Regions from separate parts of the Homo sapiens genome. Here region 1 is linked to region 2. Evidence: promoter capture Hi-C in human tissues and cell types (Jung and others, 2019). All regions are on one chromosome and are shown on one strand. Each heading gives the region's core, a stretch centred on a gene start or on the middle of the fragment in contact. The rest is flanking DNA. Distances are from core to core; before and after follow the strand shown.

The links. The method cuts DNA at HindIII sites, captures the fragments that hold promoters and counts their contacts. A contact is called where the count stands out against the background at its distance.
Region 1: a fragment that was not itself captured here is called in contact with the fragment with the promoter of FAR2 in region 2 in 1 of the 25 tissues and cell types used here (dorsolateral prefrontal cortex).

What each region holds. Positions count from the first base shown.
Region 1 is chr12:28,194,480-28,199,413 of GRCh38, forward strand. The region is part of intron 1 of CCDC91 (coiled-coil domain containing 91); the gene reads left to right. Among named protein-coding and RNA genes, the nearest start is that of CCDC91, 6.5 kb to the left of the region's middle. The HindIII fragment of the contact is 6,310 bases long and covers 1-4,934 here.
Region 2 is chr12:29,148,015-29,153,535 of GRCh38, forward strand. FAR2 (fatty acyl-CoA reductase 2) reads left to right here and starts at 1,264. Exons shown (of 12, transcript NM_001271783.2): 1 at 1,264-1,393. RefSeq lists silencers at 1,112-1,171, 1,482-1,631. The HindIII fragment of the contact is 14,796 bases long and covers 1-5,521 here.

The DNA of each region.
Region 1 (4,934 bases), core at 557-3,056, 950 kb before region 2:
CTTCTGGTGGGTCCATGGTCTTGCCGACTTCAGGAGCAAAGCCACAGACCTTTGCAGTGAGTGATACAGCTCTTAAAGGTGGCGCATCCGAAATTGTTCATTCCTCCTGGTGGGTTTGTGGCCTTGCTGGCTTCAGGAGTGAAGCTGCATCCGAAATTGTTCATTCCTCCTGGTGGGTTTGTGGCCTTGCTGGCTTCAGGAGTGAAGCTGCAGACCTTTGCGGTGAGTGTTACAGCTCATAGAGGTGGCGTGTCCTGAGTTGTTTGTTCCTCCCAGTGGGTTTGTGGTCTCGCTGGCCTCAGGAGTGAAGCTGTAGACCTTTGTGGTGGGTGTTGCAGCTCATTGTTATAGCTCGTAAAGGTGGCGTGTCCGGAGTTGTTCGTTCTTCCTGGTGGGTTCGTGGTCTCGCTGGCTTCAGGAGTGAAGCTGCATACCTTCACTGTGAGTGTTACAGCTCATAAAGATAGTGCGGACCCAAAGAGTGAGCAGCAGCAAGATTTATTGCGAACAGTGAAAGAACAAAGCTTCCACAGCATGGAAGGGGACCCGAAGGGGTTGCTGCTGCTGGCTCGGGTGGCCTGCTTTTATTCCCTTATTTGGCCCCACTCACATCCTGCAGATTGGTCCATTTACAGAGAGCTGATTGGTCCATTTTACAGAGTGCTGATTGGTCCGTTTTACAGAGTGCTGATTGGTCCGTTTTGCCAGAGTGTTGATTGGTGCATTTACAAACCTTTAGCTAGACACAGAGCGCTGATTGGTGCATTTACAATCCTTTAGCTACACAGAAAAGTTCTCCAAGTCCCCTACCCGATTAGCTAGACACAGAGTGCTGATTGGTGCGTTTACAAACTGTTAGCTAGACACAGACTCTGATTGGTGCATTTACAATCCTTTAGCTAGATAGAAAAGTTCTCCAAGTCCCCACCTGACCCGGAAGTCCAGCCGGCTTCACCTCTCATTACTATCTTTTCTTCATTAAATTTCTTTGGCTTGCCTTGTTAAAAATCAGTTGAGTATGTTTGTGTGGTTTGCTTTGTGGACTCTATTTTGTTCCATTGTTCTGTGCGTCTGTTTGGCTAAAACCTCAGTCCTTATTATGGTAGCGTTATAGTGTATCTTGAAGTCAAAAAGCCTGAGTCCTCCAACTTTGTTGTTGTTTGCCAAAAATTTTTGAGTATTCGAGTTCTTTTTCTTTCCATGTACATTTTAGAATCTCTTTATTTCTATATAAAAGCATTGTGGAATTTTTAGTATGATTGCATTGAAGTTATGGATCCATTTGGGGAGAATTGACATCTTAAAAATGTTGTTTTCTAATCCATTAATAAAATACCTTTCCTGTCCCACTGCTATGGCTCATGCTTGTAATCCCAGCACTTTGGGAGGTCAAGGTGGGAGGATCGCTTGAGCCCAGGAGTTCAAGAGCAGCTTGGACAACATGGCAAAACCGCATCTCTACAAAAATGAGAAAAATTAGCTGGGTGTGTTGCCATGCACCTGTAGTCCCTGATACTTGGAAGGCTGAGGTGGGAGGATTGATTGAGCCTGGGAGGTAGAGGCTGCAGTGAGTTGTGATCATGCCACTGCACTCTAGCCTCTGCAACAGAGAGAGCCTCTTTCAAGAGAGAAAACAAAATGAAACAACCTTTCTACGTTTATTTGGTCTTTGATTTCTCTCTGTTTTTAAGCTTTCCGCATAAAAATGTTGCGCATATTTTGTTATGTTTGTATCTAAATGTTTTATGTTGTTTGGTTCTGTTGTAAACAGTAACCTTTAAAAATTTTTAAATTTCCAATTACTTATGTAAGTGAATCAGTATTTTAATATTGATCTTGAATTTTTGAATTTTACAACCTTGTTAAACTCACGAGTTCGTTCTAGTAGCTTTTGTAGCTACTGCTGTCTGCTGGTAGAGACAGCTTTATTTCACATTTTCTCATTTGTTTGCCTTTTATTTTGTTTTCTTGTCTCTTTGCACTGGCTAGGACCTTTGCTAATGTTAACTAGAACAAGTCAGATCAGCACAGATATCCTTGCATTGCTCTTCATCTTAGTAGAGAAGGTATACAGTCTTTTACCATTGAGTAGTTAGCTGTAAGTTTTTTGTGGATATCATTTTGACCCAGCCAAGGAAGTTCTCTTTAACTCCTGCTTAGAGCTTTAAAATTTAATCACAAGTGAATGTTATATTGCTTTTTTTGATTGTGAACATGATAGTTGATTACAGTAGAAAGTTGGAAATAAAGGAAGACTATAAAAAAAGTTACCCTATTTTCAGTAATCTGAGGTAACTGCTGCAAACATTGTGGTGGCTTTTCTTTCAGTCTTTTCTTTTGCAAATATATTTTAAAAACAAAATTGTTAATATTGTTTTATATTTTGCCCTTTTCACTCAGAATCACATTGGGAGTACTTGCATCATGAATTATTTTGAAAACTTGATTTGTAATGGTTATGGGTTATTGTGTTATATGGATATGCCCATCATTTAATGATTTTCTTATTGTTAAATAGTAAAATTGTATTTCAGTTTTCCCTGTTGAAATTAACATTAAATATTTGTGCTTAACTCTGATAATTTTTCAAAGTAATTTATAAAAATATGATTATCACTCAAAGTATATACATTTTTTTTTCAGGTTCTTATATCCACTGCCTCTGTTTGGTGCTCTTGAAATTTGTTCTTTAGGCTATTTATTGTAAGAAATTTGGGGTCAGTATCATTGGCTTTTTGGGCATCACCTTAAGGTAGAATCTTTGAATTTCAGAAACAGAGTTCCTTAGAAATCGGTCTAGTTCAAACCGTTTTTTAAGCGGTTTAGAGTCTGTAATCATTAAATAACTTTTCTGCCTATACTATTTTGTTTCCACTGATCTATACAGAATTACTGATGAATTACGTATAATGTAATATACCACCTGTGCTCTTCTTTTGATAAGAATTATAGAAATCTTTGTGCCTAGCTTCATGTAAAACCCTTTATGTATGTTGTTTTATTGAATTCCAACTGCTACTTTTTGGTAGTAACATTTTTTTCCATTTCATAGACAAAGGAAACTGTCTCCAAGTGAGCAAACTTACCTAAGGTTGTATTAATAGTAAGTGGTAGAGCTTGAGTTTGTTCACAAGTCTTCCTGAATCTGTGCTTTTATTTGTAGGCTATACTATGAGTATTATGTTATTTTAGGTATTTTGTATATATTATGTTTATTTTGAATATATTAATTTTAATGCTAACAATAAATTTACTAAGCAGATTAGCAAATTAGCATGAGATGTTATCAGTACTTCTGAAATGTTTGTCCAAATTTATATCCTCTTAAGTCTATTCTTATTTTCTAAGTGGCGTAAAGATTATTGTTGGCTATATGCCATACAATTTTACTTAAATAATTAGGATCATATTTACTGTGACTAGTAGAGGATACAACAATTTATTTATTTTGAAATGTGAAGAATTTTGTAATTATAGGTTTAATAAATGGAGATAAAAAATAATGTTAATTACTTTATAAAATGAGCTCTGTTATAATTCTGGTAAAACAATTTGTTTTCCTTAGAAGGATATGTACATTTTGGTATTTACATTTCAACATGGACTATGTGAATGAAATAATTAGTTTGTGAAGTATGAAATCACTTTTTCCTTGTATTCAGAGAAGGTTGGCTTTTCTGTGTCTACCACCTCCTATGTTTTTTATTATATTCAGCCCTGTGGTTAAAGAGTAGGTCTACATAGTCATTTTAAAAAGCTGCTTACATTTTATATTATGAGAATTCAGAACTTCTGCAATTGTAGTAAAGACAGTGCTGCAGTGTTATGCAAGATCCATTAATCTATGAATATGCTTCACTGACAGATGGGCTTATATGAATATTATTTAAAAACTACATGCTTAGACATCAGTAAAAGATAGTGATTAAAGATGAGATTAAGTATCATTTTAATTACGAATTTTATACAGACAACTTAAAATTAGGTTAGACCTTTTGCTTAGTTTGCCAAAATTGGGCATGAAAAACAAAATAAGCCTGTGAAAGCTGAATGACATTAAATGGGCCACCCTGAATCAGAAGACAAGTGGCAATGAATACCTATTTTCCATTTTGCTGAATGAGAAGAATGTTTAATAAATGGTGATAGTTTTCATGAGATATTTAGATATTTTAAGTTTTATCTCTTGTTGGTTATGCAGAAGAGATTTATTTCTCTTTTTATTCAGTCTAGCAATTTCTGACTTATGAGTGGAGTGTTGAATCCATTTACAATTAATGTATTTACTAATGCTTAAGGTAGTATTTATGTCTGTCATTTTGCTATTTTTTCTGTATATCAAGTAATTTTTTTCATTCCTTAATTACTACATTATTGCTTTCTCTGCCTTTTTTTGTATTAAGTATATATTTTCTAATGTACCATTTTAATTTCCTTGATGTTTCTCTTTTTTTTTTTTTAAGAGACAGAATCGCCTAAGCTGAAGTGTAGTGGCGCCATCATAGCTCACTGCAGCCTCCAGCTCCTTGGCTCAAGTGATTCTCCTGCCTGAGCCTCCCTAGTAGCTAGGACTACAGGTGTGTGCCACGATGCTTGGATAATTTTTTTATTTTTTGTAGAGACAGGTTCTTACTCTGTTGCCTGAGCTGGTCTTGAACTCCTGGCCGCAAGTGATCCTCTTACCTTGGCCTTCCAAGTGCTGGGAATACAGTTGTGAGCCACTGCACCCGGCCTTGACGTTTCTTTTACTAAATATTTTTTGAGTTCTCAGTGGTTGCCCTGGGACTTACAAATAGTACCTTATTTTATAACAATCTATATTAATTAATACTAACTAAGTTTAAGTTTACAAATTTTGTTCCTATATATTCCCTCCCCTTCCTTCATGCTATTATTGTGTAAGTTACATCTTTCTACATTAATACAGTATCCAT
Region 2 (5,521 bases), core at 14-2,513:
TTATTATTTTAATTTCATGAAATCACTCCTTAATTCTAACTTTCAAAAGTCAAATTTTATTTCTTTAATTGCATGTGGATTGTTATAATGAGGAGAATCAGAACAGCTTATAGGACAATATTTCTTTTCTATTTTTCTTAACACACCATATTTATTTGGAAATTTACCTCCTACATTGTCCAGGGAATTAGGATGGGCGTTGGCCGTTTTTCAGCACTTCCTGGTTGAGGCCAAGGGCTCCACTCACGTGCCTGTCCATCCCTCTACAAGGCTTCCCTGGCAGCTTGTTTTTCCGTTTAAAATTTAACAATGACCAAATCCCAAAAAAGCTACCAGGCTAAGAAATGAAACATCTTTTTTTCTTTTAAGTCCGGAGAAGTGCTGCTGAGCACAGCTGGCTCACTGCTGTTTCTGCGGCCCCCATCTCTGATCCTTTCTAGTCTCCTACCCACCCCCACCCCACCATAGGCAGGCAGAGCCGGATTTCTGCCCTTCAAACCCCGAGTGTGAGGAAGCCTCACCTGAAGTCCTCGCATCACCCTCCACCCTCACGCCCTTGGGTTTTAAAAAGCCACTGCGTTCGTGGGTCACTGCAGGGCGCCTCCGCAATGTCTTTAGCAGATACAAGAGCATCCCTCCCACGGGATGTGCAGTGTAGTCAAGCTGAGTAAACTGGGATTTTTGGCTGCCTTTTCTGCTAGGGTGGGTGGGGAAAGGTATGTCCCCCAAGCGTTCAGTTCAGACTAGAACCTTTGAATCTCTCTCCTGTCTCGGTCTCTCCCTCCACCCCCCTACCCCGCCACCTTTCACGGTGTGGGAGTTCTCCTTTCCCACACCAGAGAGGGGCGCCTTTCTAGCTTCCTTGTCCCCTCGCCCACTGATTAAAAAATGGAGAAAAAAACCAACCCCAAAACCCAAAACAAAACAAAACAAAAGCCCCAAACAAACAAACAAACCAAACCCACCGAAACCAAAACCAACTCCCCTCCCCCAAACCACACAAATGCGGGAGTCATAGCCAGTGGATCCGCTGGTGCTGAACGAATGGAAGCGCGGGGCGGGCCTGCGCGCGCGGCCGCCCTGCCCACGATGCTGTCGCCCCCGCGACCTGTAGGGCCTTCGCTGGCCCCTCACCCTCCTCCCGCCCCGGGCTGAGGCTGCCGCCGGTTTCGCGCCCAGTGCCGAGGCAGCGGCGGAGCCGGGGAAGGTCGGAGGGAGGGTGGTTTCCTCCCGCCCCACACCCAGTCTCCGAGCCGGATATATAGAGTGTCACGTTTGGGAGCCGAAAGACTGGAGCCGTTTCCTTGTGGCTGGAGCGCTTCCCGTAGCCTCGGGGAAGGAGCAGGATTTAGAGGACCACTAGTTGGACCCCATCCTCGTGCTGGAGGAACAGGTATTCCAGGGTCCCCAGCCCTGGCGCTCGCAGAGCCCACGCGCTCCAAAAGCAGAGACCGGACTGGGGGTGGCCCAGGAGGGAGGGCTCGGCTGGGTTCGCAGGGCGGGGCGGTTCCCGGCGGGACCTCGAGGAGGGTGGGTGTGAGGCCGGGTGGGAGGAGAGAAGCATTTGCGGAGGCTCTGCCCCCTGAAGCTGCCCCCGGCTGCACCCCAATCGTCACCGGCCGTTTACGCGCGGTTGGCGTCGGCGGAGCCCGCCAAGGTGGGGCGCGCGGGGGTTGCAAAGGGCAGAAAGCCGGGAAGGACCCAGCAAGGTTAATGTGGGGGGCCGCGCCTTGGGGACTGGGGACCCGGGAAGAGAGGCGCGGGGCCGAGTCCCACCCAGGCCTCCTGGGCCCTTGGGGCTATTCCTGGAGAGAGCGCGAAAATGCCGGGGCCACGTGTGAAACGGCAGCGGTCCTAGGTCCCCTCCCGGTGCCTGGGACCGCCAGGGCGCCCAGTCCTGGTCCCCGGAGCAGGTCCTCGCCAGCCCCCAGCCCCACCCCAGGCTGCGCACGTCCCTACCCTCCCACCTGGGCCTCGCCGGGGTCGTGGCTGACGCGCGCTGGGGCGACTGGTGAGGCCAGGGCGGGCTTTGCCCCTGTAGGAAGTTTTAGACATCTTCCTGCGGCCTGGGCATCCTGGGGGTGTGCAGGGGAGCAGGTGCCAGCAGACTCCCAACTGGAGTAGATGGCTTGCAGGAAGGCTGCTCAACACTCCTAGCAAGTAGAATTACCCGCGGGGCAGTCTCAGTCTATTAAAACAATTCATGCCCAATCGTATCCTACAAACCAGAGGAAGGCGTCTCACCTGCCAGCGGTGGCACCATTTCTTCCACGGTTGAGTTATGTGGTGTGAGCAACCAAGGTTATCGCTGGATCTGCAAGAGTTTGGCCACTCGTTGAATCACGTAAAGTGCCCCCATTATGTGATGAGCAAGGACAGAGTAGGGTCAGAAAAGTGACCAGGGAATTCAGGTAGATCGTGCTTTTCTGTTTGCTAGGTTGAGAGAAATTTGACACTGGGCAAATGGAAATTTGAGAATTACCCCGTGGTTTCAATTACCCATCTCTGTATATTCCCATTTATAAGAGCTGGAGATTTGACTGACAGGTGTAGTTAGTCCAAAATTTAGAAAGGGGGGCAAGGGACTAAATAAAAACTTAAGGCAGCCACCTAAACTGCAAGAGCAGGCATTTCCGCAGAAGGGATATTTGTGTGTGAGACTTCTAGGAGATGGGCATGAGGTTTTTACCAGGCCGACGCGTGTGTCAATATTTCATCGGTAGTATTTCTCAGGATCCACGTCTTTACAGTACTCTTTTCCTAATTCTGAGGGCTGCTTCTGCCCCTGCTGTATTAACAAATTCCTCACTTACTCCTATTTCTAACATTGGGCTATAATTATCTATAAAAGAGATGTAAATCACCATGAGTTGGTAAATCATACAGCTATTAGAGAAATTAAAGTAAATGAAAATATGCTTTCCTTAAAGGAAGCTAAAATGTGACATCCAGTTACAGAGGAAGAGGGAGAGGTTGAAAATAAATAAAATGGCTTATATTAGGGTATCACTTTGGGGTTTATAAAGCATATGATCATCTTGACCATCTCACCATCTGCTTTCCTATCTCCTGAGGAAGAAGCATTCTTGAGTGCATTTGTTTCTGGCAACGTCTCATCAGTGTTAAGAATTCCTTGATTTTGCATTAATTCCCATGCACTCATGAAAACTTACTTATTCACAAATATAGCCTTGTGAAGGATCATGCACAGTGACCACCAGCATGCTTGTCCCTACCAATATATTCTGACATTGTAGGCTCTGTTGGAACATGTATTACCTTTGAAGAGGGTAACAGACCAATTTGAGAATCTGATGAAAGCTATGGAATATGAAAGACAAATGCATACATATTAACACAAAATTCCACCTACAATTTCAGGAGTTCATGGCCTCCTTGATGCCCAGCCTCCTACATTCTAGATGTCCAGAGGCTCCAGGCAGGGCCAGCTTCATGGAAATACAAAACTGCAACCGCACAGGGCCTTGCACTTGGAAGGGCCCTGCGTTTGGTAATGTTCTGCTATCACCGTCTGCTGGCTTAATAATTTTCAAAGAGGCTCTGGATCTTCATTTTGAACTGGGTCCTACAAATTATATCCTGACCCCAGGCTGACAAACTTGGTCTAAAACTAACCAAATAACAGTGTTTGAACAGCAATCCCACATTTACGGTGAGTTCTCCAGTACAAACCTGAAATTTATCTGCTGCTCACTTAGGTGCTCTTGGACATGTCATTCAGTCTTCCTACATTTCAGTTTCCTCATTGACAAAATAAAGACAACAGATGACACCTTCTACTTTCTTTATTTTCAAGGTTGTACTATCTCTAAGTAAAAAGAGGTAATAATTGTAAAAAATGTCTACTTGCTTTGAATAGTTCTTTTCTAAAAAATATGCTGTTGTTGAAGGGTTAAACTTTGCCCTCCATTTTTCAGAAGTAGCTTGAGGAAGGTTGATTGAGCACACTGAAAAGACTGTAGAACCTTTCTGACCCTTATAGTTTGGTGGAAAATAAAACAAAAAGTAGGCAAGTATTCAGTGTGTTAAATACTCCTGAAATATCATTATTTGGACAAAATTAGAATTTTCAACTAAAGGTGCAGAATAACTTCTTGGATCCCAAAGGTAGTTATTGAATTAAATTAATGTTTGGGTCTAATTCATCCAAACGTCGAACGGTGAGAAAATGAGCCAATGACTGAAATTTTTTGAGGGGGTAATCCTTTTTGTTTCATTTAATTTAAAAAATCTGTAAGTTCAAAAGTTTGATCAAGTCATCCTTTAAAATATCCTAGGAAATGCCAAATCAATTTAAAGTACACCTAGTCTCTTGCCAAATACACCTAGTGACCTTTTGTAACTCTGGTGCCTCTTAAAGAGGAACTGAGAAAACAGGCAAGTCCTCTGTCCCCAGACTCCTCCCTTAACTACTCTCTGACCTCAAAACTTATCTTTATTCCAGCTGTCCTTGTTAGCATGATGGCAATACACTCAGAACCACTGAGGAATAAAATAGTGTGAAAGGGAATTGATCAAACTCCTTTATTAAGGTCTTCTAATGGCACTAGAAGGGATGAATGGAGATTCGTTCTTCATGCAATTACTCTGTGCAGGGGCATGCAGTGTACTTTAGGATACAAAGTAACAGTTCCTGTATTCAGTAAACTTATGACATCATTAGTAAGACAAATATGTCAATATAAGGTATTAATTTAAAATAGCAAATAAGTAGTTACAAGGCAATAGAAGATTTGGCACCAAATGAGTGGTGCAGAAAATAAGTGCAATTAATTCCCAAGAAGAGAATAAAATAAGCTGAAATGCTGAGGGAAGCATAAGAGGAAAGGCCCTTAGAGATAGCCCTTAAAGTTCTGCAACAGAGATGAACAAACAAGACTTTTGGGTGCCCAGGGACCACAGTGGCACTTTGGGGTGGGAAGTGTGCAGAAAAGGAATATCTGGATGCAGCTGAAGTTTTATGTAAGGAAAAGGCTGGAGATAAGTCTGTAACAGAAATTCCCTCTAGCTAGCTTCATTCATGTAATAAATAATTAGGCCCATTCTGTGACCAGACACTGTGCCAGCTTTTCCACATTTGGTGTTGAACAAAGCAGATGTGTTCCCTATTTTTTTGGAACCTACAGACATTTACAAAATAAACATGTAGGAATACATTGTGGGAAGTAGCGTGGAGAAGAACAGAATGCTGTAAGAAAAAAATCAGGGGCACTGACTCCGTTTTGGTGTTCTGAGAAGGCTTGCTCTTTGACAAAGAAAGATTTCAATTGCTATTGGAAAGAAGCATAGGGGTTAACTTGACTAAAAAAAAAATCAACAAAGAGAAAAAGCAATCTGGGCACAGGAAATTGCAAATGGGAAGGTCTTAAGAGAAAACGCTTGCAGCATTCAGGGGACAGAGAGAAGGCAGGCCTTGTGACTGCACTTAGGTGAGGGCGCTGCTGAGAGGCAGGACACCAGTTGGAGAGGGGAGCAGGTGGCTGGTCATGCCCAAATTCAC